5 separate regions of the Homo sapiens genome follow, and regions 1, 2, 3 and 5 are each linked to region 4. Evidence: promoter capture Hi-C in 16 types of primary human blood cells and fetal thymus (Javierre and others, 2016). All regions are on one chromosome and are shown on one strand. The core of a region is centred on a gene start or on the middle of the fragment in contact, and the rest is flanking DNA. Distances in the headings are between cores, read along the strand shown. Region 1 overlaps KCNAB1 (potassium voltage-gated channel subfamily A regulatory beta subunit 1). Region 2 holds the start of PLCH1 (phospholipase C eta 1). Region 3 overlaps GMPS (guanine monophosphate synthase). Region 4 holds the start of CCNL1 (cyclin L1). Region 5 overlaps MFSD1 (major facilitator superfamily domain containing 1).

Evidence for each region. Contacts are between HindIII fragments. The CHiCAGO score rates a contact against its expected background, and 5 or more counts as called.
Region 1: a fragment that was not itself captured here is called in contact with the fragment with the promoter of CCNL1 in region 4 in 1 of 17 cell types (naive CD8 T cells); the score reaches 5.3 in naive CD8 T cells.
Region 2: a fragment that was not itself captured here is called in contact with the fragment with the promoter of CCNL1 in region 4 in 1 of 17 cell types (fetal thymus); the score reaches 5.4 in fetal thymus.
Region 3: a fragment that was not itself captured here is called in contact with the fragment with the promoter of CCNL1 in region 4 in 1 of 17 cell types (total CD8 T cells); the score reaches 5.6 in total CD8 T cells.
Region 5: a contact is called between a fragment that was not itself captured here and the fragment with the promoter of CCNL1 in region 4, in 1 of 17 cell types (M0 macrophages). The highest score is 6.2, in M0 macrophages.

Annotation. Positions count from the first base shown.
Region 1 is chr3:156,141,648-156,147,752 of GRCh38, reverse strand. All of the region lies in intron 1 of KCNAB1 (potassium voltage-gated channel subfamily A regulatory beta subunit 1), which reads right to left. Among named protein-coding and RNA genes, the nearest start is that of KCNAB1, 24 kb to the right of the region's middle. The HindIII fragment of the contact is 8,066 bases long and covers 1-6,105 here.
Region 2 is chr3:155,743,827-155,749,576 of GRCh38, reverse strand. PLCH1 (phospholipase C eta 1) reads left to right here and starts at 4,506. Exons shown (of 23, transcript NM_014996.4): 1 at 4,506-4,737. RefSeq lists enhancers at 4,544-4,753, 4,648-5,269. The HindIII fragment of the contact is 869 bases long and covers 2,815-3,683 here.
Region 3 is chr3:155,885,894-155,891,820 of GRCh38, reverse strand. All of the region lies in intron 1 of GMPS (guanine monophosphate synthase), which reads right to left. Among named protein-coding and RNA genes, the nearest start is that of GMPS, 18 kb to the right of the region's middle. The HindIII fragment of the contact is 3,641 bases long and covers 1,261-4,901 here.
Region 4 is chr3:157,156,189-157,161,777 of GRCh38, reverse strand. CCNL1 (cyclin L1) reads left to right here and starts at 1,631. Exons shown (of 11, transcript NM_020307.4): 1 at 1,631-1,986; 2 at 2,299-2,373; 3 at 2,803-2,912. The coding sequence starts at 1,684. RefSeq lists enhancers at 770-829, 850-899, 987-1,716, 2,350-2,419 and a silencer at 2,000-2,209. The HindIII fragment of the contact is 11,903 bases long and covers 1-4,893 here.
Region 5 is chr3:158,807,266-158,813,049 of GRCh38, reverse strand. It overlaps MFSD1 (major facilitator superfamily domain containing 1), which reads right to left. Exons shown (of 16, transcript NM_022736.4): 5 at 5,587-5,654; 6 at 3,763-3,871. Among named protein-coding and RNA genes, the nearest start is that of MFSD1, 8.1 kb to the right of the region's middle. The HindIII fragment of the contact is 699 bases long and covers 2,710-3,408 here.

The DNA.
Region 1 (6,105 bases), core at 2,649-5,148, 1.0 Mb after region 4:
GGAGCAGATTATCCTTAAGGCCCATCTCAAGTTAAGAATTCCAAGAGTTTCTCTACTTTTCCCTTTCTTCTTTTATAGCCTTCTCCCTGCCGTCAGCTCAAGGCTTTAGAAAATTTTATCCTTGATTGGCAAATAACACTTATTTTTCTAGAAACAATTGCTTCATTCCATGAACCTGGAGAAGCCCTGTCATTCTTAAAAAAAAGAATAAAAAAGAAATCTGTGTTTTTGTTATTGGAAAATTCTTAAAGCATAGCCCAAAGTGGCCAATATGGTTTCTATTTAAACAATGTCACTTTTTTCCATTATGCACCTATTTGTCTTTACTGAGTTATTATTTGATATGATAGTAATATTAGGGGCTCCACAGGAAAGATCCTCTAGGAACCTTGCTGCTGTGTTTGCTATAAGGATATTGCAAGGATATTATTCCTTACACAAAGAAGAACCTCAAAAGGAACTTCTCTCTGATTTACAGATCAGGAAGAGGTGTGCCATTATGGAGCAACTGGCTTGTCTCTAACTCAAGGACCCTGTAACTTTGTAAAGGGCTCAGTTTCCCTCTTCACAATTTAATGCTGCTGGAAAGCACAGAGCCAAATCCAGGTCTAACTCTTGCAACACATTGGCTTATACACAGCATGGTCCCTCACCCCAGGCTCTCTGTTCCCTTCCTGCTCTTTTGGTCTTTCTTGGCACTGTTTTTTCTATCTTCTTTGTAATTTATTTTTATCTTTCTCAATTATATGCATTTGAGTTCCTTAAATACCTCTGGAAACAAAAAGGTTTAAAAATAAATAAATACAAACAAGTAAATACATAACCTGAGCAACTGAAGGCCTTGCTTTCTAAACCAGGGGTCAGCAAACTATGGCCTGCTGAACAAACCCAGCCTGCCACCTGTTTTTGTATGGCCCACAAGCTAAGAATGATTTTTACATTTTTAGTGGTTTGGAGGAAAAAATAAGATTTGTGATATGCAAAAACTATAAAATTCAAATTTCCGTGTCCATAAATAAAGTTTCATTGGAACATGGCTGTGCCCACTCATTTGCATATCATCAATAGCCACATTCACCCTACATAGCAGAGGTCAGTAGATGTAACAGAGGCAGATACGAACCTGGAGCATGAAATATTTGCTATCTAGCCTTTTACAGGAAAAGTGTTGTCCCTGGATTAGAGCTTCATTTTATATCTGTTTAAGTTTCTCCTGCCAATGTTAGTATTATAAGATTGCTTCAAAGCTAGGTATTTGCTACATCTTAACTCAGTCTAGATATTTTTGGTGTTTTTCTCATAAAACTACTCCTCAGTGTATTTTAACCTTGACTCAGGCTCGTGTTTACTGTCTGGCTTAGAGTTCAGTGCTATGTAATAAAGACAATTAATTTTCAGCCTCTTAGTAGTAAACTGAAGACCCTCTTAGGTAACCATTTTATAGTCACTGATAAAATGAATTTTAAAACTTCTATTTTTGCTGAGATTTCTAAGCCAACAGAAGGATCTACACAGCAACTTGGCACTTTTTACACCACATTCAATGTCCTCCAGTTTCTTTTCAATTGATGCATGTGTTTGCATATTTACTTATTTTTTTTCTCCTCCTGGTCAACCTTAGTTAGAAATAAAACGAAGTCTCCATGGAAACACAACATAATGCTCTCTCACAGATGATCGAGGGACCCAAGCAGCTGGTATTGGGCTAAAGTCTGCAATGGCGTCTGACCAAATTCAGAATGGAAAACAGCTTACCCGGCTCTTCCAGACCTCTCAGAATTCTAAAGCTGAGCATGGAAACCTACACAGATTGTGAACTACTGTGGGTTGTCTTATTCTTTTTTTTTTCCTTTTGAGAATATTCTCTTATCCATTTATATGTTTCACCTAAAGGGTTTCAATCCCTCCCCCACTTAGACTGATGGACAGACACTACAGAGTAAGTGGGAAGAAAACCTCCATTCCCAGTGAGCACCTACTGTATTAGACATTTCTATGTCATGACTGGCCCAATGTCACACAGTTCTAAAACAGGCAGAGCTTGAATTTGAACTCTGGTCTGTTTAACTTCAATGCCCATTTTCTTTCAACTTTACAAGAAAAAAGAAAATAGAAAAAACAAGGCTTAACAGAGGTTGTTTTTTTAACATAGCCATGGTCCCCTGCCCACCCTCTTTTTCCTGAGGGGGAAAAATCATAATAAAGAAGTAAGAATATGAAAGTCAGCTTCTCTCTTAACCCCAACTATGTTTATAAGAAATCAAGGTCTAAAGCTAAGTTGGGGAGGAGCCAAGAGAACCCTGGTTCTCTTTCCTAAAAATCCTTTCCAAATGGTTGCAGGAGAATGTCTTAAATAAGGGCAGTAAGCGAGTGTCTTAAAGGGAGAATAAACAGAGCACTAAGGACATTGGGGAGTGGGTAATGGAGAAATGTGTCAGGAAGATGTGTCAGAGCACAAGCTCATCATAATTTAGAGCCTTGGCTATTTCTTAGGGTTAATGATCAATTAAACTGTGCTTTTCTCCCCTCAAACTGATTTAGGGGCAACATTCTCCTAAGTCCCATTTCTTACTAGGGTGTGATATGGTAGCATACACCCTTGTCCAAGGCAGTATCTGGCATCTCCAAGGTAACAGAGCCTTCCCCACCAAGGCATCATGAAGAGTCGCCCAAAACCTATGGGGAGTATGGAATCCACATAGGTGTCTCAGAAGAGGCTGGGGGATGACTGCTCCCCTCAAGCAGGTGGGCTCCAAGCTCCCACCTTTAGCTGAGGCAGCTTTGCTTTCACCTGTCTGAAGAACGTGTTCCTCTACTTCATAATCCTTTGAAAAATGCTTTCCTAGAACATACCTTCATCTGAACATTGGCACACAGCACAGATCTGTAATTGATATTTAAACTAGACTTTTGAGAGAGAAAGGCATACCCTCTAAAGGTTTATGTAACAATTCATGGTAATACCACCCATCCTATGACAAAGACATGGAGGCAGACTTTTTTAAAAGTGAAATGGTCCATCTTCCCCTTCGCCCGATCTGTGTTCACATCACCATCACTACCACCACTGAGGGTCGAGGAAACACGGAGAAGAGAGAAAACGTGGGGGGACAGAGAAGCAGGCTCCTTCCGGTGACAGATTCAGAAAGAAACAGCAGCATCTCCTCCTCATCCATCCCTCCTCATTCCATGAGCTACCATGAAAAGGTGAGCTCCCCTTCTAAAGCAGGATGTGGTAGGCTGTCCTATCCTCCTTATAAATTGAGAAGAGTTCATTTCTTTTCTGCACAACCCTTTTATTACATAGAGTCTGTGTAAAATACTTTGCTCTCCAGAGAGGAGCCATATCATTGCAAATTGCTTTATGAATATAATTAGCTGATAAATTAGAGCAGCAGCTACTACACTGAAATAGACCTTCAGATTTTGGAAAAATGAAATCACTGGGGACATCTTGTACATGAAAAACAATCTTATGCTGTGCAGAAGTTTTGATATGAGCTAGGACAACTGTTCTTACAATTGCTAAATTGTTTTTTCAGTTTTCAGTACCTTGTCCTTCTGAATAGCTTTTACTCAGCTTCTGGGCTGTTTAAAACTCCAGGCGTACGTAAAGGAAGCACTTGTGCAGGAGCAATAATTGCTCTGAATAGGAAAGATTCTTCCCATCACAGAGCAACTTATAAAGATTACACATCCAACCCTATACCAAGAAAACATTTCTCCTTTTTGTTAATCTTTCATAAAATAAATAATGATATTGGAAGTTTAGTGTACAACCAGTAATTTATCTTGGGTGACACTGATTTAAAAAATAAATAAATAAATAAATAAATAAATAAATAAATAAAGTGCTGTCATTTCAAGGAGAACTTGAACTACTTTATTAGCTATTAGTACAGACCACATGATTCAAGTTTAGAAGAAAATAAGTCTTGAATCCCAGGCAGCATTAAAAAAAAAAATTCTACTCTTAACTTATAAATTCTCTTTCCCTTAAGAAGAATGGAGTCCCCACTCTTCATTTTGACCTGCCAAATCACCTCCCTACTCAGAGCCAAAGATACTTCTTCTGGAGCACATGGTTAGGAGTTTCCACAGATGAACTTGACTGTCTTTTCTGTAACCCTCTGAGAAAAGAGAACGCTTAAAGCTAAAAAAAAAAAAAAAAAAAAAAAAAAAACAAGAATGCAACCCAAGAAGAGGGCTCACTGCATTTTTCCTTCTTTTTCTTACAGGGTTTTGTCTTGCTATTTCAGTCCTTATTTCTTTAATAACAACCTTTGACATCAGTGCAGTGCCCTGGTTGGATGACTTTGCAATCAGCAGTACCTGTATGCCATGCCCGTCTCTGCTCTGGTGGTTTCCTGCAACGAAATTCCATGAACACGTAGAAACTTTTCCACATATTTCTGTTCGGCTGCTCCACTGGGCCTCACAGGTTTGCAGGCCGCCTGAGGCTGAGTCTTGGTCACTGCTAGGTGCCATCTACATTTTAGAGCCGATTCACTGGATTTTGGCAGACCCAGCTTGGGGCTCGGGATGTCTGCACAGGCAGGTTTATACAGATGCATGTTTCAAAAACCCAAGGAAGCAAAGCTAATTGCACGGTGCTTAACTTTAAGACTCACTGTATCTTGCTGTGAATACCTTGGGTTATCTGGCTTCAGTATGTCCCTCAAAAGGTTTAGCTTGTTTTCTTTAGATCTCTCTTATCATTTTTGTAGGCGAGCAGGCTCCTAAGTTCCCGACAGAGCTGTTGGTTGTGTGTCCCTGCCCAGGCCTGTGCATAAAGGAGGCTTTTGGTGGCCAATCACTTTTCTCATCCCTTTAAAGTACTCAGAGTCAAACATAAGCAACTATGTACTGGCCCTGGGGAAAAAAAATATGGGAACTTTTTCCCATGTCTTTCTATTTAGGTAAAAGGAAATATTTTGGTGGGATCTGGGCCAATCTGTTTTTATAAGGACCATAAAGCCTTAGGGATGATTCATGAGTATGTAATGAGACTTCTCTAAATTATTAAATATTTTGTAATCAAATAATTTTTTATACTAGAGGCATGATTCATTTGGGTGAAAGGTCCATTAACCTCTTTCAGATGTTGCTGTCAAATGATAGACAAATATCAACAAGTGGTTGTAAAAGGCAAAGGGTTCACACAAATATGGCTAATTATTTTTGACAAATATGAAGAGCAAATCTGTGGAGGAAGAATAGCTTTTCCATCAAATGGTGCTGGAGCAACTGGATATCCATAAGCGAGGCAAAGCAGAACAGCAACAAACAAAAATAAATGAACCATTGACCTAAACCTCATCTTTATACAAAAATCAACGCAAAATTGATCATGGATTTAAATGTAAAATGTAAAACTATAAACTTGTAGGTAAAAACAGGAGAAAATCCTCAGAACCTAGAGTTAAGTGAAGACTTATTAGACTTGACACCAAAAGCACAATCCATAAAAGGAAAAGCTCATAAATTAGATTTCATCAACATTAACAACTTCTGCTCTATGAAATACCACGTGAAGGGGATTTTAAAAAGCAAATTACAGACTGGGAGAAAATATTTGCAAACCACATATCTGACAAAAGACTTATATCTAGAACATACAAAGAACTCTCCAAACTCAACAATAAAAACATAAACAATCTAATTGGTAAACGGGCAAAAGATATGAACAAACATTTCACTGAAGAAGATATACAGATGGCACATAAGAGCATCAAAAGATCATTAGCCATTAGGGAAATACAAATGAAATCCACAATGAGAGATCACTACACACCTATCACAATAGCTAAAATACAAATGGTGATAACACTAAATGCTGTCAAAGATTCAGAGAAACTGGATCCCTCATAAATTGCTGGTAGGAATGTTAAATGGTTCAGCCACTCCAGAAAAGTTTCTTATAAGACTAAACATTCCAAACTTACTATATGACACAGCAATCACACTGTTGGGCATTTATCCCAGAGAAATGAAAACTTATGTTCACATGAAAACTTGTACACAAATGTTTATAACATCTTTATTCATAATAGCCAAAATCTAGAAACAACCCAAATATTCCATAATGGGTGAATGATTAAACTG
Region 2 (5,750 bases), core at 2,000-4,499, 1.4 Mb after region 4:
TGCCAGAATCTCTTCCTGCCTTCACTTGGTAGGACCAGCCCCTTTCATCTTGGGAACAAATCCTCCCTGGTTCCAAGCAGTTCTGATGGGCTGCTACTTATAATACCCCGCCTTCCTGGCCATAAGGGTGTGTGTATAATCAGGATCTGGCCACACATATACTCTACTTATTGTTGTCCACAGTAATTGACCTATGGATGGACACATGACCTAAGTCAGGTCAGTTCGAATCCTTTCCTACCATCTTATTTACAGATGGTAAAAGCAAAAAGGCCTCTCTAGCTGAGACGATTGAAACCTGGAGCTGTCTCTAGTCATGCTCTCCCCACCCCCAGCTTGTACAGAAAGCTCATATGGAATAGGAGAGAATAGGATCAAAACACTGAGAAAAGCAGAGACAGGGAAATAGTAGGAGCAAAGGTGAAAGTGTGAGAGTGACAAAAATTCCTTGCTTGGCCAAACAAACATTAGTCATGCTTCTGAGCCTTCTCCTGGGCCCATATGTGCGTTTTCTTGTAAAACTCAGTTTTAGAAAAGAGTTCTGCCAAGTCAGTTTAGCAAGAACCCCCACTCTCCATATCTGATCATTCTCAATATCTGATCAGATCCCTCATCCTCCACTATTGCCCAGGTCATGTCTGATCTCCCTGGCCTGTGTTCAGCAAGAATCCAGTTATGTCGGGTTAGCTAGAGTTCCTCATATTCCTGATGTTTCCTCTTAGTGATTTTTCATCCAGCAACCCCATCTGTTCTTTGTCTATAAATTCCAAGCTGCCTATGCTGTATTCTGCATGAGCTCCTTGCAGTAGTCCCTGTGCCGATTTCGATCGTGCTGGATAAAGCCTTCCTTACCATGCTTTAACACTGACTAATTTTTTCTTTAACAAGAGAAATGCTGATTCTGAATTGCTAGACTCCCACCGTTTCTGAAGTCCTTATCCTTCCCCCTATCTTAAAGTGGGAGTCAATACATCAGCTTTTTTTACTCAAGCTGGTTTGATAAGGGGTTTTGTTATTTGTACCTAAAAGCCGTGACCAATTTGTAGAGTAGGGCCATAAAGACAGGTACTACGCTCTACTTCAGGAGTGCTATCTATATTCCAGCTAAGGCTTACCACCTAGAGCAGTGCCTGGTACATGGCAAGTACTAAAGAAATATGTGTTGAAAGAGGAGTGCCTCTTCCTTGATACGCTTTTTTGGTCAATGGTTTTCTTAACTTGGTGCATTGATTAAAATAGGGAACATTTATCTCCTTTCCTCTCTTGCTCGTGGATATAACTCAAGATGGTTGCTGTTTAAATTTGAACACCTTAAATAAATGGCTCTTTTTGCAACTGGAAGCACAATTTTTGCACAGCTAGAAAAATCTTTTTCCAACACAGAAATTCCCAGTGCAGTTTTCTAAGAAACCCCCTACGATACGCAGCACAGCAGGCTCACCACAAGGCACATCAATCATTTTACTGTGTATCAGGCACCTCTTACAGGATTTTCTGTGATCCTGGTGTCAGTGCACATTCTGTATCAAGGCAGAGATGATATGTAGAAATCTGGCAGCTATTTAGAAGGGAGGCTGGGCAGTGGTGTGCCAGTATAATTAATGAGAGTCATCGCTTAGGAAATGAAGAGGGTGGGGGTTGGGAAGGATGCCTTTCACCATTCAATGGCATTTAAGAAAAATTGATGCTTTCTTAGCACTTTTAATGCTGGGAGGACATTAAGTCAAAGAATCACAGCAAAAGATTTTTGTAACTACTGTACAGATGGATGTCCCTGTGCTTGAAGAGGCAGGGCTAATTCAACCCCAGACTTTTCAGCCAGGCGGATTTCAACCTTGTATTGAGCTACCAGCAGGAGTTCTTTATACTTGGAAAAGTGGTAAATCCTTACTAAAAGATCATAGCTTGCATGACCAAGAGATCCTCTAGAAAAGGTACTTTACTACCATGTAGGATGTTTGTCTTACCTGCCCAAAGAAGTTTTAATGAAGATCTCATTTTCTCCAGTTCCCCTTTAACCAGTGAAAGAGGAGGGTATTATTTGTTTTGTTTTTCTATTTATTCTTTGGTAACCATGGAAGAGTTTGTGTAACCTAGAGAGGCTGCTTATTACCCACTGTCTAATCCCTTTGTTATTATTCCATACTCTGATTGTCACAAGCAGGAAAAATAGTTCTGTCCTGCTTCTAAAAACTTAGCAATGTAACACATTTTCTTGTTTTTAGTGATTTTCTCCAATTAATTAATTAATTGTTTTAGTGATTTTTCTCAGATAAATAATGTTAAAACGACTTGGAGAGAAAAGCTACATTAAAAGATTATGGATGTATAAATGTCCTAAACATTTAAGAACATGCATAATTATGATTCATACCAACTTCAGAATTATTACCTTTGGGAAGGGGTGGGGGTAACGAGTCAGGAGTTGGGGTTTAGCTATATCTGTAATGCTTTATTTAAAAAAGAAGGGCTGGGGGGAGCAGGAGTATTACATGGTATATATCCTGTTTTTGGTAGGTTTGAAATATCACACAATTTAAAAATTTAAAAGTTTACAAAATTATGGGAGTTGATTAAAACTATCAAAATAAAGAATGCATAGCAAACAAGTGCTCTTATTATGAACTTTGTGTCTGAGTTTATTTCAACATGTGCATCTGCATTTTTTCAGACTCAAGAAAGACAAACACCGGAGGTTAGGGGGTGAACTGCTGCTGTTGAGGGATTATCTTGGTGGTTTTTTTTTTTTTTTTTTTTTTTTTGGCTTTTCTATTCACCATGGAGGTTACCAGCAAAACAAATCTCCAACAAGCTTGTTTACAAAATATAAAGCAGTTTGGAGGCAGAGGGTTAATGACTTAATTTCTTATAAATTGAGGCTTGTGTATGGGCATGCAAAAAAACAAAAACAAAAACAAGTAAATTTGGGGAGGTTTCTTTCTATAGAGGCAAAGGACCTTACCTACATTTTTTCCAAATTGATTTCTTCCTGGTACTATTGGCAGGAAGAAATTCAAGTGGGTATTCTGGTGGCTTTTTTCTTTTTTCTGAGAGTCTAGGATTGTTTTCAGGACAAAGTTTCTTCTTGCCCATGGTGCTTTGCTGTGACATTGTAATTGCCTCTGTTGAATTGAATAATACAAATGGGTTGTTTCTATGGTATCGGCTAAGTGGGATGAAAAGGTGAAACCCTAGATCTTGCGCTGAGAGGTCACAGTGCTACCACCCTCCACACTGTCTGTCAAAGAGAACAGGCAGCCAAGGCCCTGAGCTCCAATCTCAGGCACTCATTTGTAACTTACTCGTTTGTAACTTCCTGGGCAAATTCACGCATGAAAAAAGAAAATGACTTTAGTTTATGTTGTCACTAAGCCCAGAAAATCCCTGCCAACCCCATGCTGCCAGCTTTCCTAGGACATTCTTATTGGAGGATTATTTTAAACTGAAAGGTGAGTGAAGAGCTGCGTCCCCACTCCTTCCCAGCCAGGCTTTGAACTAACAATAGGGCAGGTTGAATGAAGGCTGATAAATGTAAATCCTGGAATCCAGAAGCCGGATCACACCGCGGCCGTCTAGGCCAGCGGCGGTTCCAGCATCCGCCCCAAGCTGGTCACTCATCCTTTCAGTGCATTCAGTAGATTTCATCGTTTCATCAACACTTGAGTGCCTGCTTCGTGCAAGCTTTCCTCTGCCACCGCCGCCTTCTTACTCCCGGCAGGTTGCCCGCTTGAGTCAACCAGCCACTAAACGGATCTAAGTGAATAAGTGGCCTGTTAATGCCAAGGAGTAGCATTTCCAAATGAAGAGACTGGGGGTAAATAAAAGCAAAGTGTTACCATTTACACGCTCTCAATTTTAGTTGCACTTCACTCAGAGTAGATCTCTTTAATTTGCGGCATCGACAGATGCTATATTCTTAGAAATTTTTTTTTTTTAAAGGAGGTAAGACGGGCGTTTGAGAACACTTTTTACTTTGGTGCAAGTTGCACGCAGTTCCCATTCACTCAGAGTAGATCTCTTTAATTTGCGGCATCGACAGATGCTATATTCTTAGAAATTTTTTTTTTTTAAAGGAGGTAAGACGGACGTTTGAGAACACTTTTCACTTTGGTGCAAGTTGCACGCAGTTCCCATTCCCTGCGCCCTTCACTTCCAACTTTGTTTCTCCAACTCCTTTACCCCCCACCACCGAGGCCCTCTGGCTACAGCCCCGAGGGGTTACCCTGGGTTTCGAAACTTTTGAAACTTGCGGGGGAGTAAAAGTACTTCATTCCCAGTGCTTCTGGCCCTTGCCAAGCGGGGAGCCCCGCAGGAGAGTGTAAGCCAAGGGTTCCAGGTGCAGCCTTGGGGTTCCACGTGCAGCCCTAGGGTTCCGTACACCCATCCCGCCCGGGCCAGAGGAGGCAGCAGGCGCTCCAGTCCGCTCTCCGCAACTCCAGTTCCTGATTTCCTCGGAAGCTGCGGGGCCGAGAGGGAGGGGGGCTCCTGTGTGAGCGTGAGGATTTGAATGAGAAAGCAGGTTGTGGCGGCGGCGCCCTGCTCTTCCCCGCTCGTCTGGGGCTTCTGCTGGCTAGTGGGGAGAAGTGCTCTTCTAGGGGGGCTTTTCTGGCCCTTGGCAGGGGTTTGGAGTTGGAGTCACAGGGGCCAATAACTCATCACCCCAGCACTTCGGAGGTGGCTCCTTGTGCCACGGACTCCGAGGAGTCCTTCAGCTACTGAACACTCAAAGCTGAGGAGGTCAGTGCTTTCGGGGGAAGAAGGGGCCCAGGAGAGAAGGGGGTGTGCAGGAAAAAGAGAACTGGTACGCCAGTCCGATGAGCGAGTGAGCAGGTGGCCCAAGTTCCTTTCTCGGCAGCCACAGCCGGCACACGCCTGTTTAGGACTGTGAGTGCTGTGCGTGGGGATCCCCTAAGGCCCCGTGCGGGGAACTGGCCACGGCCGCTCTTCAGGGTCCCATAATTCAGAAGGATGAGGGTGGGTGTGTGTGTCCGCGAAATAATGTAACTCTCGGGTCCCTTGCGGTGGTGGTGGGTGGCGTTTCGCCCGGTGGAAGGTCCAGCCTCGCTGCAGGATGCTTCACCCTCACGCGGGGTCCCGGGACCCTCTCTCTGACCGCCAGACGCCGCCAGGAGAGCAGGTCCGCGTTTCCCAGCAAGGGGAGTGCAGCGTCCGTTACACTTGGGGAGTCTCACAGCTTTTCCTGCGCCCGGTGACCCTGCTCAGGACCTCTTAGAGACTAGGTGTGCTCAGCGCGAGGAGGATATACTCCATTGCCCTTTCCTGGGAAGAACCAAGAGCGCCCGAGCGGCGCGGGGTGGTGGAGGCAAACCCCGGCCCCGCGGCGGCACGCTCTGCGCCTGCGCGGCGTTTCCTTGGCGACTGAGCTGCGGGTCCGAGACGCCACCCCGCGAGCCCCTAAACCCAGTTCCCTGTTGAGCGTCTGCGACGCCCTCTCCCCTCCTTCCCGAGGCTTTTTCTATTTGTTTCCTTCTGCGAATCAATTTGTGATCACATTTTGACGTTGAGAGTTCAGCATTAAAGCAATAACCAACTAAATTAAAAAAAAAAACCCAACTTTTCCCTTCCCTTGTTACCGTTTTGATCACGGACAGAAGAAAATGGTGAGAGATTAGTTATTAGGGCAGCAATTGAAATCCCCCTCTGTCCCGAAAAGGGGAGACGAATAAAACATTTACTTCCTGGTAAGGAGTTAGAAAATTCAGTGAAGTGATTGTTCTCGAGCGTTACAA
Region 3 (5,927 bases), core at 1,832-4,331, 1.3 Mb after region 4:
CAGCCTGACCAACATGGAAAAACCCTGCCTCTACTAAAAACACAAAATTAGCCAGGCATTGTGGTGGGCACCTATAATCCCAGCTACTCGGGAGGCTGAGGCAGGAGAATCACTTGAACCCAGGAGGCGGAAGTTGCCGTGAGCCAAGATCACGCCATTGCACTTCAGCCTGGGCAACAAGAGCAAAACTCCATCTCAAAAAAAAAAAAAAAAAAAGTAACAAACAAATCAGTCATCTACAGAGGAGGATTTGTGAGAGGGAGCCAATCCGGTGCCAGAAGAAATTACTCAGGTCATAGAAATGAAGGTTCTGGTCATATGAATATTCAATACCGTAGAAAAGTGAAATCACAGAACAAACTACAACTTTGTCCTTTCAGACCTTTACCCTTAGTATTAATGTATACACATACACACACCCCTTCATGGATTTTCTCTATAATTCCTTAATCTTAACTTTTTAAAAAATATTTTTAAACACTACATTATTGCATAAATTTCTCAGACTCAGTCCCATTATTATCTTTACCATTTTTACCAAATCTAAGTATGCTTTTTTACATTACAGGCAGAGTTCCTGCCTTGCATAATCCTAATATGCACAAATTTCAATTACCATGGTTTATACCAAGGTTTAGTTAATTACCAGTCCCCAACAACATGGCTCAAATTTCAGTTATCATACATTACTGTGAGTAATTATATAAAGGACAAACTTCATTGCCAGCTCTTCAGTCCACAAACCACCATGTAAATAACAGATGAACATCAGGATCAGTGACCAATCACCTCCCTTCTTTCATTCTATTGGTGATTGGTCAATGGACAACAAACAGCCAGAGTGCAGTGTGTTGCCTGTCTTACACTGATAAACCCCAAAGGACTTTTTACAAATACAGATAATCCAAACGGGGCTGGCCAACAAAGATGAAAATGCAGCAAAGAAATGAAAAGTGATAATGCTGGAGTGAAATTTGAATATATGGAGTTACAGAAGAAAATGCTGACTGTGGCAAGGCTGACAGGGTTTGAGAGCCTCTAGATATACAGCCACAGAACTTACCAACATCAGTGAGGAAACTGGTTGTGATGGAAAGAATGGCAACGTCCCAAAGGAAGTGACTCCAGGAAAATACTTCACATTAAAGCAACTCTAGGAGATATTTCATGACATTAAAACTGCAAAGGATAAAATGTTGGAAGCAACCAAGGCACAGAAACGACACAGAGAAGTGCTGTTTAAACTACTATTGATAAGCTTTTTACAAAGAAATAAAATACTTTAATTCTCAATGTTCCTAGTATTTTAAATTATACTGTAGTAAACAGTAGTTTTACTATTTTTTTATTTCCCTACACTTTTGTAATTGACAAAAGTTTTTAGTGATTTAACAAAAATTTTTAAAGATCACAAAACAATTGTAATTTTCCCACTGACTATTAAAATTGCTTTGCATGGTTTCAGCTTGCATTATTATTTTTAGCTGTTTTACTTATCCTGCATAGCAAGGACTGCCTGTATTTATTTAAGTAAACTAATCTTTACTCAAAAAATGTATTTTAAAAGAATTTTCCTGTTTCCTTAGCAATAAATGTTCAATTCTGTGACACAAGAGATTACTGAAGAAACTGAATCCTTGCCCTATTTCCTTCTACTGTGGGTATGACCTTGCCTATGCAGCAACTGTCACAGCTTTGACAATTCAGGAGAAAACAAAAAGGCTCCCACTAGTAAAAGCAAAGTTCCTCTCCCTCAAAACCTGGCATTTATTTGCTCACACTTCACACACAGTTGTAAAGTTTGATAATTAGATTCGAGATATTAGAAAAACCATCCTAATGAGAAAAAAGAAACTTAGTCACATCAATGCAGAGACAAATAAAATTCAGCATCACAAGATAGAAAAATCTACCATATCTATTTACATAAAGCTATTAAAAAGACAAATGCCTAAAGACTTAAGGTGAATATCCCTCACTGCCCTGAGTGCATCATAATAAAATAAGCAATATTCATAGATATATTTTAAGATATCAAGAAAAAATATTAAGGAAAAAATTAAACCATATACAGCAAACTCTTTAAGAATAGGGTAAGAAGATCTAGCAGATTCTGGAAAAGTGGAGATGGAAATGTTTATGGAAATGTTTTGTGATTTTCTTGGATCCCACATAATTACTGAACAACTAGATAGCAAAGACATTTACAAGAACCCCAAAATACAAGTTGGTGGTGACAAACTACCACAGCCACAAACCCTAGTGCTACAGCACCTACGTGGGAAGCAATCCAGCCTTATTAAAGGACCTGAAAACAGGAGAATTCCCAACACCCAAGAGGTACGACCCAGAAGGCACAGCACCCAATTAGAGAACCGCAGCGCGCTAGGAGGAGGTTTGCCCACACCAATAGTACACAAGTGGCAGGGAACCCAAGGTAAGACATAAAGGGGCCAGGAGAGTTTAACCCCCATGAACCCTTGACACTAACCAGTCAGAGATCCTTTCCAGGAGAGGGCCTGCTATGAAGAGCCACTGCTGGGAGATGACCAAAACTAACAGGACAGGAAAAAGGGAGAAGGAACAGACTAACATGGGGCACAGGGACAGAGCCAGGAATTCTTAGGAAACAAGTGCCATAATTTTTTAACAGAAGAGGAAGTTGTATGAAGTTAGAAACGTTATCTTGACTAGCTTCCTTCTAAAAGTTGAGGAAAACTAAATTCACATAAAAAGGAAACAAAGTATAGAAGTTAAATCCCATACAAAGTTACTAAAAGTAAAAAAAAGGGAGGCCAGGTCCCTGTGACTAAAGCCTGTAATACCAGCACTTTGGGAGGCGGTAGTGGAGGGAGGCAGATCGCTTGAGCCCATGAGTTCGAGACCAGCCTGGGTAACATAAAGAAATCCTGTCTCTACAAAAAATACAAAAATTAGGCCAGGTGCCGTGGCTCACACCTGTAATCCCAGCACTTTGGGAGGCCAAAGAGGGTGAAGCATCTGAGGTCAGGAGTTCGAGACCAGCCTGGCTAACGTGGTAAAACCCCATTTCTACTAAAAATACAAAATTATCTGGGTGTGGTGGTGCATGCCTGTGATCCCAGCTACTTGGGAGGCTGAGGCAGGAGAATTGCTCAAACCTTGGAGGTGAAGGTTGCAGCGAGCTGAGATCACACCATTGCACCCCAGCCTGAATAAGAGTGAAACTCCATCTCAAAAAAAAAAAAAAAAATTAGCTGGGAGTGGGTGCACGTGCCTGTGGTCCTAGCTACTCGGGAGGCAGAGGTGAGAGGAGCCCAGGAGGTTGAGGCCACAGTGAGTCATAATCATGCCACTGCACTCCAGCCTGGGTGACAGAGTGAGATCCTGTCTCAAAAAAATAAAAATAAAAAATAGAGGGAATAAAGAACAGAATGATGTCTCTATGAGAATAAGCAAGAAAGACATCCTCAGCTCAAAACTAGAATGTACTATTTCTATAGTAGCTAAAAGATACTTTTAAAATTACACAAGGCAAGAGAGAACATGAATCAAAATTAGTCTATGAACTCAGAACGACCAACCCTAAAACATACTCCAACAAAATTACTGGATTAAAAAAAAAAAAAAAAAGCCTTTGGGTATTTTAGATTAAAAGCACACATAATTTTTTAGGCTAAGGAGGGGGGATTACTTGAGCCCAGGAATTGGAGACTAGTCTGGGCAATGCAGCAAGACCCTATCTCTTAAAAAAAATTTTTAATAATTAAAATAAAGGAATGTTGGTCAATTTTACTGAGGTTTTTCATAAGAGGCCATCATCTCACATAACACTGAATGAAGTTGGAACCTAAACTAAAATGTTAAATCAAAAAGTAAGACTCTGTAGTTCTGTTGTTCTACCCTATCCCTTTTTATTTTTAAATTTTTTAACCTAAAGAAAAGTTGAAAGTTTGGTACAATAAACACCACTCTTCATCTATATCAATGATCAGTAACATTTTGCTGTATTTGCTTTATTTCCATCTACATACACTTTTTCCACCTGAACGACTTAAACTGTATACCTTTCACTCCCCCAAAACCTTTTCAGCATGCATCTCCTACAAACAGGGACAATCTCCTATGTAACTACAATATCATTATCACATCCAAGAAAGTTAACATTGATAATTATCTACATATAAGTTTCCCCAATTGTCAAAAACAAGGTGTTTATGGTTTTTAAAAAATTCCATAATCTATCAAGGACCACACACACAGTACACACATTGTCATACATTGTCTCCTTCAACTATTCACCTCCTCACCTTTTTATAGTCTTTTATGGCATTGACCTTTTTTAAAGATCAGACCAGCTTTTTGTAGAATGTCCCACACTGGATCTCTTTGTTGTATCATGATCAGATTCTAGATAAACATTTGACAAGAAATTTACATTGGTAATGTTATCATGCCTCCTCTTGATATGATACAATGCAAAGACACAATGTCATTTTGTTCCATTACTGGTGATACTGAGTTTGGATAACATGCCAGTGTGCTTAAAAGAAAGAAAAAAAAAATCAGATTCAAATCTTCCTTTGCTCAAAACCTTACAGTGACTTCCCCTTAGACTGTTCAATAAAGCTCAAAATATTTCCCAAGACCTATAAGAACCTGGCCTACTCTTTAGCCAAACTGCTCTTTTAAAATTCTCTATTGCTCCAGAGTGGTATGCTGTCCTTTCTGGCTGAAAAATCCCCAAAACATAAATGAATCATTTCAAACTTGCCAAGTGAAAGAAGCCACGCATCTCTGAAATTACAATATATCTTAAATATTAATATCTTAAAATTCCACTAGTCCAATGACACAACTATCATTGCCATTGTTAATATTATGTTAATTCATATTGAGTCACATAAAGTTGCAGAAAAGCTTTTCCTTAAGGGAAAGGGATTCCCAGTGTGTCTCAAGGAATTTCTCATAGAACAGGAAGACATCCCAAGGCTTCAAGGGAAGAAACAGAGGTGAGCCCAGCTAAGTCATCAGGAGGCCGGGCACGGTGGCTCACGCCTGTAATCCCAGCACTTTGGGAGGCTGAGGCGGGTGGATCACAAGGTCAGGAGATCGAGACCAACCTGGCTAACATGATGAAACCCAGTGAGTGGAGATCACATCACTGCACTCCAGCCTGGGTGACAGAGCAAGACTCTGTGTCAAAAAAAAAAAAAAAAAAAAAAAAAAAGTCATCAGGAATAGACATGCTAGATTTTTTTTTTTTTTTTTTTGAGATGGACTCTTGTACTGTAGCCCGGGCTAGAGTGCAGTGGCGCGATCTCAGCTCACTGCAACCTCTCAGCTCACTGCAATTCTCTTGCCTCAGCCTTCCGATGAGCTGGGATTACAGGCACCTGCCACCACGCCCGGCTAATTTTTCATATTTTTAGTAGAGACGGGGTTTCACTATGTTGGCTGGGCTGGTCTCAAACACCTGACCTCATGATCCACCCGCCTCGGCCTCCCAAAGTGCTGGGATTACAGGTGTGAGCTACCGCACTCAGCCAGACATGCTAGATTTTTATATAACTCACCAAGTTTGCCATTTCTCTATGTATTCTGTGAACAGTTGAGTAAGATCCCTAGAAAAGTGTAGCAACTTATTATTCCTACAATTATGAATGGACAAGTGCAATCCCTTAATATTTTAGTCAGCAAAACATTTAAAAACCAACTGAAGGCTGAGCGCCATAGCTCACACCTGTAATCCCAGCACTTTGGGAGGCTGAGATGGGAGGATCACTTGAGGCCAGGAGTTTGAGACCAGCCTGGGCAACGTGGCAAAACCTCATCTCTACTAAAAATAGAAAAATTAGCCAGGCATGGTAGCACATGTCTGTAATCCCAGCTACACCGGAGGCTGAGGCACTAGAATCACTTGAACCCATGAGGCGGAAGCTGCAGTG
Region 4 (5,589 bases), core at 382-2,881:
GCAAAACCCCGTCTCTACAAAAATACAAAAATTAGCTGGACGTGGTGGTGTGTGCCTGTAATCCCAGCTACTGGGGAGGCTGAGGTGGGAGAATCGCTTGAACCCCGGAGGCGGAGGCTGCAGTGAGCCGAGATCGCGCCACTGCACTTCAGCTTGGGCGACAGAGTGAGACTCTATCTAAAAAAAAAGAAAAAAAAAATCAACTGATAACAGGCGATTAACAGGAGAAAAGGGATACATAACACCGGGGTAAAAGCAGGAGGATGATTACCCAGTAGCTTAATGGAGTACAGAAGATTTTATATCTTTTTTTCATAGGGGAAAGGGTAGATGAGAAATGTAGACATTTATTTTGAGGAGCAGCAAATGATTATTAGGAACAATGAATGGACAGAAATTAGTAAATAATTTTCTTTTGAGTAATCTTGTGAAAAAGTCCCTCCAGGAATGGCTGCATTTCTGAGTCTTTTTGAAATAGGATACGAGATTTCAGCGAGGGGAGGAATGCGATTGATTCTTCTACAAAGAGGCTTCTCTAGTCAGGAAAGGAAATTTCAGAGAGTACCTCCCTGCACTTGGGAAAAGTGGGAGCAACAAGTCAAGGTTGGGGGACCTGCATTATGAGGCAGCTTCTAAAGCCTCTGTCTTTGGGGTATCGCTTTCTGAGCGTCAAGAGTAAAACGTGATGCATTCCTTTCCTTCCAACCTAGATTCTAGTAGTTTAGATCAGTATCATTGTTTTTACTTCAAGGTTCAGGAAACGCTGGAAATTGCTAGCTAATATCACAGGAAAAAAAACAAAAAACACGAGGTTGACCTCACCCTACCCGCGGTAGGTAACCATGTATGAATAGAGACTCCCAGGCATAATCAAATTACCTCTGTCAAGTCCTCGCCCTAAGACTATTTTTGGAAACTAGGGATTTTCCAGATTACTGAAAGCCGTGGCGGTGTCAAAGGCCGGGCAGGAGTTTCGCAAGCGGAGCTATGAAAGCAGCCACTCTCGCGGTCATTCCTATGCCTCCGCCCTACTTCCCCATACTGGCAAAAACACGCTCCCCGGGGAGCTTTCATTTGGGAACCGATAGGGTCCACAGCCCTGTGTTCTTCAAATACTGTAAAGCAGCCCTCTCCAGATTCCTTGAGGGTCACTTTATATTACACATTCGTCCACACAGGACAACAAAGTCACCACTTCCACCCGCCAAAGCGCGCTCAGGTCGGCCGCCACTTCCCTTGGTACACGCGGAACGCAAGCCGCGCCGAGGCTAAAGGAAGAGGCCGGAATGCAGGGCGAAGGGGCGCAGAGATGCTAGCCAATGCTGCCACCTCTATTTTGGGTATAAGGGATCTTGTAAAGCTCCGTTATTCGTGTGGCTATCACAAACAAGGTGGTTTCGACCGGCCTTGGCTAGAGAAGGCCTCCTCAGCCTCTGAGGATCCCAAGGTCTGTCGCAGCACCCAACACTCCCCTCGCAGGCCCAGATGCCGAGGGCGGAGGCGCGGCCTGGAGGGACTAGTTGGCGCGCGGCTGCCCGGCGTGGTGACGTCAGGGCGGAAGCGCACGCGGCGTGAAGCGGCCCAGAACCCGGCGGTCACGGGAATATCCGTCGCGCCGAGAACGCTGGTTAGTCTTGTTTCGGGTTCCGGCTGCGTTGGGCTTGCGTGCGGCTCGCTAAGACTATGGCGTCCGGGCCTCATTCGACAGCTACTGCTGCCGCAGCCGCCTCATCGGCCGCCCCAAGCGCGGGCGGCTCCAGCTCCGGGACGACGACCACGACGACGACCACGACGGGAGGGATCCTGATCGGCGATCGCCTGTACTCGGAAGTTTCACTTACCATCGACCACTCTCTGATTCCGGAGGAGAGGCTCTCGCCCACCCCATCCATGCAGGATGGGCTCGACCTGCCCAGTGAGACGGACTTACGCATCCTGGGCTGCGAGCTCATCCAGGCCGCCGGCATTCTCCTCCGGCTGCCGCAGGTCAGTGCTCCGGCCCCGGGCCGGCCGGGCGCTCCTCTCCTCTCCTCCGTCCCCTACGCCGCATCTCAGTATCACCGTGCCCCGGGAGGGTGGGGACGGTTCCTTCAGGCTTTCCCGTTCGGGGCCCAGCCGCGGCCGGGGCGTGCCGGGGCGGGGGGCTGCGGAGGCGGAGGGAGGACTTGGCAGCGGGCTGTTCGCAGCGGCGGCGGCGGCGGGAGGGGAAAGGGAAGCGATCGGCGGCACAAAATGGCGGCGGCGCCTGGAGCGGGCCCGCCTGACCCCTGCGCTTCCGTTCTCCTCTCTTGTCTGCAGGTGGCGATGGCAACGGGGCAGGTGTTGTTTCATCGTTTTTTCTACTCCAAATCTTTCGTCAAACACAGTTTCGAGGTAAGCACAGCGGAGGCGGGTAAAAGGGATTTCTTCATCCGGAAATGGGCAGAGTAGGGGTAGTGTCAGCAGCCAGCTTTTCCAGAAAGGGAGTGGTTTAGTTTAGGCCTTTGTACCTACTTCTCACTCGCCAGGAAGTGGAAACCTTTAGAATGTGGTTCAAAATCGATCACGAGCCTAAGTGCCCTCTTAACGAAAAGTACAGTTTTCAACCAAATGCAGAACTCCTGTAAGATTGAGTTTGACTCTGGAACCAAAATTAAGATGAGTTAAACAACAAAAAGTATAGTACTAGCATAGCTGGTAGACTTACGGCATAGAGATGTCTTCTCTAATTTTACTAAAGGTTGTCCCAATTGTGTTCTAAATTTTATTCTTCAAAGTGAGTTTAATCTAACAATGGCTTTTGTGGCTCATGGGTTCTTTCAGATTGTTGCTATGGCTTGTATTAATCTTGCATCAAAAATCGAAGAAGCACCTAGAAGAATAAGAGATGTGATTAATGTATTCCACCACCTCCGCCAGTTAAGAGGAAAAAGGTAAGATTGGCATTATTGAACATAGTATCTCTTGCTACTGCTGTACCGTGCACCAGTCATCAAATCAAAACATCTTTCCTTTCAAGTGAATACGGATGCAAAAGAAAACGGACTTTAATTTAGGTGTTAAAGTTCATATAGGAACACTGATACTTAAAATAATTTGAAAAAAGAAACATAATTAACCGGTTATCTAAAGTTTGTAGAGGCAGTTGCATTTATGGACAATCCTAACAGTGCTGTGAAGCCAGGCCTGTGGCTTAAGATTAAACAAGAAAGGGAGTACATTTGGCTCAAGTGTGAGTGTATTCTGTAAGTTATTTTTCCTCTCCCCTCTCTGGAAGACTGAAGGCTGGAAGTTTAAACACTGTAGTTTAAGTTAATATTGTGGCAAAGTTCTGTGTAGATTATGTTTTTCTACTCGAAGTCCCAGTTAATTCTTTATCAATTGAGGTTGGCTTTTGTTAGAGTACTTCTCAACATTGAACTACGATAAATCGAATAATACCGGATCTGAAAGGACTGCAGGATGATAAAGTTTGAAGTTTGAAGTCAAAGGGATTAAACAGGTATTTTGTTTTGGTTAGATACAGTCTCAGTGAGTGGGTTAGAAAATTAACAAGTAAGATTGATTGGGTTGCATTTAGATAGGGCCATTTATTTGATGTTGTAAGAAAATACAGAGACTGAAATAGTATCTCCTAGGTGTTGTGGTAACATAATTTTATGTGGACCTATGTGTTCCTGTGAGGCAGTACCAAAAAGTTTGTTGCAGGACTTCCTGCATCTACAGGTGACTTCCAGTACATGCTGCAGAATGATATATTTGGTGTAGAATAGTTTTTGCATTCACTCTTTAAGGAATTGTAGTGATGTTAGACAAATTGTACTGAGTTTGAAAGGAAGTTATTAAAAGGATTATAAGTTGTTCTGGGGGTTGGGTATGTTGGTTAGTGCTGTTAGTATTCTATATGAGTAGTCCTTATTGGCTGAATCTGTAAGTTGGCAGTAATGGAACTATTCAGACAAGCAAATATTAAAGCAACTTTAAGATGACTAGTCTATTCTGTGAGTCTACAGACAGTTCTTTTTTAAAAAAAGAGTATCCTAGTCAAAAAGTCTGCAACAGTTTTCCTACATACTTTTTCTCCCCCATCTTTTCTCATTCACCTTAACTGTGTCCAGGGATAGAGTACTTTTTAAATTCTAAAATATCTTTTAGTTTGTTGATGAGTCCCTGGGAATTGGGAAGATTTCAAATTGGTCTTTGGTATGGTCTGAGGTTAAATCTGTATTTAGATACCTGGCTGATTCTTCAGGATGTTTAAAGTAATGACACTAATACAAGGCTCTATCTTTAGTCAAAGGTTTCTCTTTGCTTAAAGGAAATGGTTTTCTAGTATTCTTTGAACCATTGAGCCAACTATTATGTAATCACATGATTATCTTCTGTGGAATTTTCCTGTGAGACTAGTTTACTTCGTTGATGTTAGAATAGGTCTTAACTGTAAAAACCATGGAATTTAAAATAATATAATCTCACCTGATTGTTGTGTCTGATGTAACTTTGTTTTTTGGGTCATTATTACAGAGAAACTGATTTTGTTTCAATCTTAGAAGTCTGATTATAGCAAAATTTAAAAGGAGTTGTTAATTGCATGGAAGCCTTTTTTTAAAGCAGGATGTAAAAGTGTTTCTATGCATATTACAAGTTTACTCAAGCACGTAACTTGTATATGTTATTAACTTCAACTCTTTTTTCCCTTGCAACCGACTATACAGCGACCAGCTACATTTACCAAAGCCTGGGTGATGTGGAGTGGTACATAGAGATGAAGCTGTCGTCATGGCAACAGTGAGTGAAGTATCGAAAATCCCCAAGGAGAAGCCAGTGCTCTGAGAATAGGTCACTGGAATCGGGGACTAACAGGTTGGCCACTGGTGAACCATTTAGAAAAACTCCTGTTTCTTGTTATAAGCTTTTGTCTTTGCTGTCCAAGTTATTAGAACTATAGCTTTGTATTTATTTTTGCATAGGTTAATGTCATTAGAAAGTACTATCAGTATTATACATTGGTTAGGTAAAGCATATCACTTGTCTTAATGATGCTATTTGTTTTAATCTAGTTTATTCATAACTTTAAATTGTAGTGTGACTTTGACAATTACAGTGGAGATACATTATTCATGTTGCTTGTAGGTCATTGGTCTCTTCAGCCTGGCTACACATTGAGAATTAGCAGAGGAGCTTTTTAAAAAGTACCAGTGCTTAGTCCCCAACCTGGATTGTTTGGCCTATTCCTCCTTCAGTTTTTTGTGGTTCGATAATTATCTTTTAAGTTGACAATAAACAGCTAAATTTAGAGGGGGGATTGCTTTTTCATTGTTCTAGTTTCCAAATATTTACTTTTGAGATGCAGCGTATTAAAATTTTCAAAGACTGGTTTAACCATTCTCATTAGTAAATACAATGTATTTTCAGTGTATCCATAGATAATAAAAGTTGGATAGGTAAGAATTGGAAGGGTGTTAAGTGATGTCATTTAGTCTACCACCTTTCTACAGTATAATTCTGTGGCTCTACAAGGTGGCCTTCAGTTTGTTTAAATACCTATAAAGGATGTTTCTACTTTTAAGTAGGCATTACAAATTTTTGTATATTGCTTGGCAGTATGCC
Region 5 (5,784 bases), core at 1,810-4,309, 1.6 Mb before region 4:
TAAAGCTGGAAAGGAGAATATAAAATTGGGAGTGGAGGCCTCCCAACTGAAAGCAACTTTGGCGTATAAACTTGCAGGAAACGAACTGTGGGGATACCTGAGGGAGGAGCACTCCAGGCAGAAGGAACAGCCACTGCACAGGCCCCAAGAGGAGCTTGCCTGGAGAGTTCAAGGAATGGCAAGGAGAGCAGAGGCTGGAACAGTGCAAACAGAACGGAGAGGATGAGATGAGGTCCCAGTGAGGAAATGGTGGGAAGGGAAGCTACAGGAGGACTTTCAGTTTTTATTCTGTGTGAGATGGGAAGCCATTGGGGTTTGAGTATAGAAGTGGCATGATACTTTGACAGACTCATACTGGCAGACTCACTCTATCTTCAAAACAGACCACAAGGCAAAAGCAAAGGCACCAGTTAGGGAGCTATAGCAATAATCCAGAACAGAGATGATTGGGCCTAGCCCTAGGTGGTTAGCAGTGGGCATGGTGGGAAGTGGTCAGAGCATAGATATATTTGCATATAAGTTGCCCTGAGTTTCTAGAAGGGAATCTCAGGGGCTTCTTAGAGGCAGTTTAGGGATTATGAGAGTGGTAGGGAGATCTTGAGGAGGTGAAATGAGCCAGATCGCAGGCAGCCACCTCAGTTTCAGCCAACGCTGCTCAACTTTTATCTGATTTATGTATTTAGCGTCCATGTAAGATGATTTTATGATCAAAATGGCCAAGAGCTATTCCATTATAGGGCTGCTGGGGGTGACATAGATTCCGTCTTTTTTGCGCTTCTCTTGTTCCCTGTGCAGCCTCCAGAATGACCACAGAGGTCCTGGGTTTACCTCTCCATGATTTTTCTATTGCCTGAGTTTTTGAGTTTGATTGTGTTTAGACACTTGAACTATTAGCATATACCATATACCTTCAGTGCACTTCTCATTTTTCTTAGTATTCATGTCTTAGCTCGGGACTGGAGATCCAGCACCCTTTCAATTTTCCTTCACTATTGTTACTTGAAAACTCATTATTTCAACAAACATTTATTGAGTACTTGCTAAGCCAGGTCATGTTATTTTATTTAATAGATATTTTAAATAGTTAAAAGAGATTTTAAATAGTTATTTAATAGGTATTTTGGAATGAAAGGATTATTAAGGCAACATCCTATCTTTGAGGAATTTATATTTTTGATGGTATTAGAGAAAGCTTCCAGTAGGTCTCTGTTTACCTTGTTGCTTATTTGAGTAATGCCATTAGCTAGTATTTTATAAGAAACAGCCATGTGAAATTTGCTACTGTATTTGCTGTGAGAACATTGTTGAAGGCATGTACACTTCTCAGTCTTCAGCAGTGTCTGACCTATCAATAGCATTTCACGCAGTTGACATCCTCTCCACCTTGATTTCTTTTCTTGGGTTTCAGGATACCACAGCCTATAGTTTCCCCCTTGCCTTTCTGCCCACCCCAATGGAGCCCTTTTGTTGGTTCCATCTCGATCTTCTCAACCTGCAAATGTGGGAAGTGCCCCAGGGCTTGGTCAATTGACATCATCTCTTTTCTTTCAACATCCATAGTCTTGGTGATCTTACCAAGTTTTGCCATTTTAAGTAGCATTTTCCTTGCTCCTGAACTTACATCACTTGCCCAGATTTTTCCCCTGAATTCTACACCTGTATATGCAACTGCCTACTCAACATTTCCACTTGGATGAATGGCAGGCATGTCTAACCTAACACGACCAAAACCCAGTTGCCTTTAACTAAGGATGTGAAAAGTACAGCAGGAGCTGGTTTAGGGGATGGTGGGCAGAGTATCAAGAGCTAGGTTACAGCGCTCACAGTTGCTTAAGCAAAAACTGTGCTGTCATCCTGAGCGCCTCCGTTGTTTTTCCCCCACACTCTACATATTTTCCGTTAGCAATCCTAGTAGCTCTGTCATCAAAAGAAAATACATACACAGAGAAAGAGAGAAACTTAGGGCTCCTCAGAATGCAGCTTAATGAATTATAGCTAACTTAAAATGACACAGAAAAGAACCTGATGTCCTGGTAACCAGAATGAAGTCAGTTGAGTCTTGCTCAACTGATTTCACTTCCTTCTTTAAAAAGTTGTTAGACAACTAGATTCACAAACTGCCACAGACATATCTGGACTTGCACAAGACTCGTAATGAAGGCTTTGGGAATATCCTTATAGGCAAAATTTAGAAAATATGGAAAACCACACTATTTACCAAAGAATTACAAATTCAAATATTTAGCTGTTTCCTATCAAAGTGATAAAGTAATTTTCTAAAAGTAATAATAGCCTGTACTATCAATGCTACAATAAAAGGGATCCTCTCATATCCCACAGGTGGGGATGTAAACGTCTCTGGAATGATAATGCGGAAATATCTCTCAATAGTCCTCAGATGACCTAACAAATACCCTGACTTAATAATTCCATTCCTAGCCACTTAGCCTATGGAGACTAAAAGAGATGCACAGAACTTTCATAGCGAGAGTGTCAGACTATAGCACTATTTATAATAGTGAAAAATCAGAAAGAACTTACATGTATAAAAATACAGAAATACTCATATGATGAAGTATTATATGAAAATATTTTTATATTGAGTTTCTTATTCTCTGAGACTATGTTGTATTTTCACGACACTTATTAAAAGTCAAAGCTTCTGCTCGCCTTGGCAGCACATATACTAAAAATCAAAGCTTGAAAGCTTGATTTTTAGTGGCAAAAAAAATTTTTTTTTAATACTCTATTCATGGGAATTCTTGAGAGAAAAAACCTAATGGGATTTGGGAATGCCAACACACCTTATAGTTTGCATTAATAAAAACATAGTGTTGTCTCTATAAAAAATACACAAAATTAGCTGCACATGGTGGTACACATCTGTAGTCTCACTATTCTATAGGCTGAGGTGGGAAAATCACTTAAACCTGGGAGGTCGAGGCTACCATGAGCCAAGATTGCACTGCTGGACTCCAGCTTGGGCAACAAAGTGAGACCCTGTCTCAAACAAACAAACAAACGAAACCCATAATGTTGTTCCCGCTAGGTAGCCTCTAAGACCAAACCTGAAACACCATGATCATTTCTAAGTTCCAAATGCCAACAGGAGTACTGGCTAACTGAGATAAGTTCAGAGAGGCATAAGCACCATGGTAAGGGAGCTGAGATCCATGTCATATGGCTCAGGCAACCACAGGAAATGAGCACACATAACCAAGAACTTAAGAGCTGTCTACAAAGGAGCAAAGTGCTGATGCACAGCAGAGGAAGTAAACTTTATCTACAGAGAGCAAAAGTCAGAGCCATCAGTAAAAGCTACTTGTAAATGGAGGTTTCATCGCTATGTGAGGTTACGCTTCATAAAGTTCATTAAGGTAGGTGGGCTGCTTCATCACAGAGCAAGCTTGCAATCCCTGGAAATATTGCAAACTGAACCTGGACAGCCGTATGTGGAGAGGTTCTAGCAGGGATGCCAAAAATGGGTAAGAAATTAGACAACAAAACTTACAGGATCTCTCCCTATGCTCAGATTCTTTGAACTAATGAATGTACACAACCATTTTAGACTGTTTACTAGATGAAATAAGGTTAGAAATGCTTTACTCAAGGTAAATGCCATGCTGTGTTCTAGAGAAATCCATAAAAGTTAATATCTAATTTACCATACACAAATACATTTCATCCTGTGATTTTTAAGAGAACTATAAGATTTAATCTTTTGCTTCCATTTGGCTTCATCAGGCTTTTCATTATACTTACAATTCTAGCCATGCTAAGTTGAAGTCCAAACACCAGGTTTAATTCTTTGCCTTTAAACCAGCTCACAGCATATGTATTCTGGGCAACTGCTAAGGACTCGCCACCAATCCTAAAAATAGAAAAAAAAAAAAAAACCAGAAGTCACAACTTTAAAGAAATACTACAGTTAGCAATGCAGCAGGTTTAAAATGTTGGCACTTCTCCTATCAAGAGATGGGGCCTCTGTCCCCTCCCCTTGAATCCAGGTGGGCTTGTGACTACTTCAACCAATAGAATATGGTGGAAATGAGACAGTGTGATCCCAAGGCTCAGTTATAAAAGGTGACATCACCTTTTCACTCCGACACTCGCACTTGGAGCCCTGAACCACTACCCCCATGCTATGAGACAGCAAACCACAAAGAGAGGCCACATGTAAGTGCCCCAGTCAGCAGTCCCAGTCTTTGAGGCATCCCAGTCCAGGTGCCAAACATGTGAGTCAATAAGCTTTCAGATGATCCCAGCCCCCACCCTTCCATGAATCTTACCAGCTGAGGCCCCAGACACTAGAGGCAAAGACAAGCTGTCCTTGCTACACTTTGTCCGAATTCCTGCCCATAAAGTCCATGAGCATAATGAAATGGTAGTTTTATACCGCTAAGTGTGGGAGTCACATGATATACTGCAATAATAACCATGATAGGCAACAAAAGGAGTCGTCTTGGTTACTACATTACCATCGATATTATATAAAATGCAGATGTGGGAAAAGTGGTCCATGCTTTGTGAAAACATAAAAACTCACATTTTTCAGAACAATATGCAAAGCTCTCCATCAATCAATCCCCACATTCACTTTCCATATTCAACACTCTCCTACTTCCTGGGTTTTAATTTTCCTTCAGTAAGTTTCAATATTTACGATTCTCCTCCAAGGGCCTTCAGTTAGGAGCTTCCTTCCTCCATATCCTTACACCGAGGCCACCTCAGTATTAAGGACTAAGAAACAGTCTTAAGACAAATAAGAAATAGTCTTATTTCTTGTGACTCTGTCCTAGCCCAAAAATATTTTCCCTCTCTTCTAATAATCCAAATCCTGTACTTCTGTCAAGGCCTACTTCATCTGTAAGGCCATTTCTGACCACATTTCTGTTTCTGAATCCCTGTCATAACTTTACATACATTCTTCTTCCTTCTCTCTCACTGACGGTTACTTTTTGGGGTATGTCACCTATGTCTACATGCTCCTGACACCTGTGCAAAGCTTGAATAAGTTATGCTTTTAAAACTGAGTCAGTTCTGTCATCTGGGTCCCTCAGGGCAGCAAGCCCAAGGCTGGTCTCAGAATAGGCTTACTGAACAGACAATGCAATTCAGGTAGAACAACTGGTCTATAAGAATTCACACAGAATAGTCAGCTTACACATATTGTGCTCATTCAAGCAAAGCTCTTGGACAGGGTTGAAAGGACCCTCGCATCACTTGCTAAGAAAGAGTGAAATGTCCATCAGTCACCAACCTAGAAATCGATGGTCTATACTTTTCTAAATGTGGTTCAAATCATAGTCTTTAATACAACAGAACAGGCAAAATGCCTGGGAAAAATATCATTTCCAGAGAACTATTTAATACTCAAACCCCACACAGAGTTGATTAGGACCATTCAAAATTGTTGCTTATTTTAAAGGAAAACTAAGACAACTAAGAAATACTCTTATGCATATGAAGCTAGGTTTCAAAGATTTGAAGTAATTCCCCAGAAGAGACAAGGTTTTTTAAAGATCTTTCATAGATGAACACTAAAACAATAATACATTAGGATAAATTAAATTATGCATAACTTACCCAAATACAAATCTTCCAAATTCCATCAGCCAAAAAGCATTAAATATTCCACCCAGGGCAAAAACAACCTATAATGTAGAAGTTCATGTCAAATTAATGAAAAAGTAAATTCAAAGTATTAAAGAGAAGCAAAAGGAACATGATAAATCTCAACTTCTACAATAGTTTTAATATTTCTCCTTAATAAATCTGTGAAGT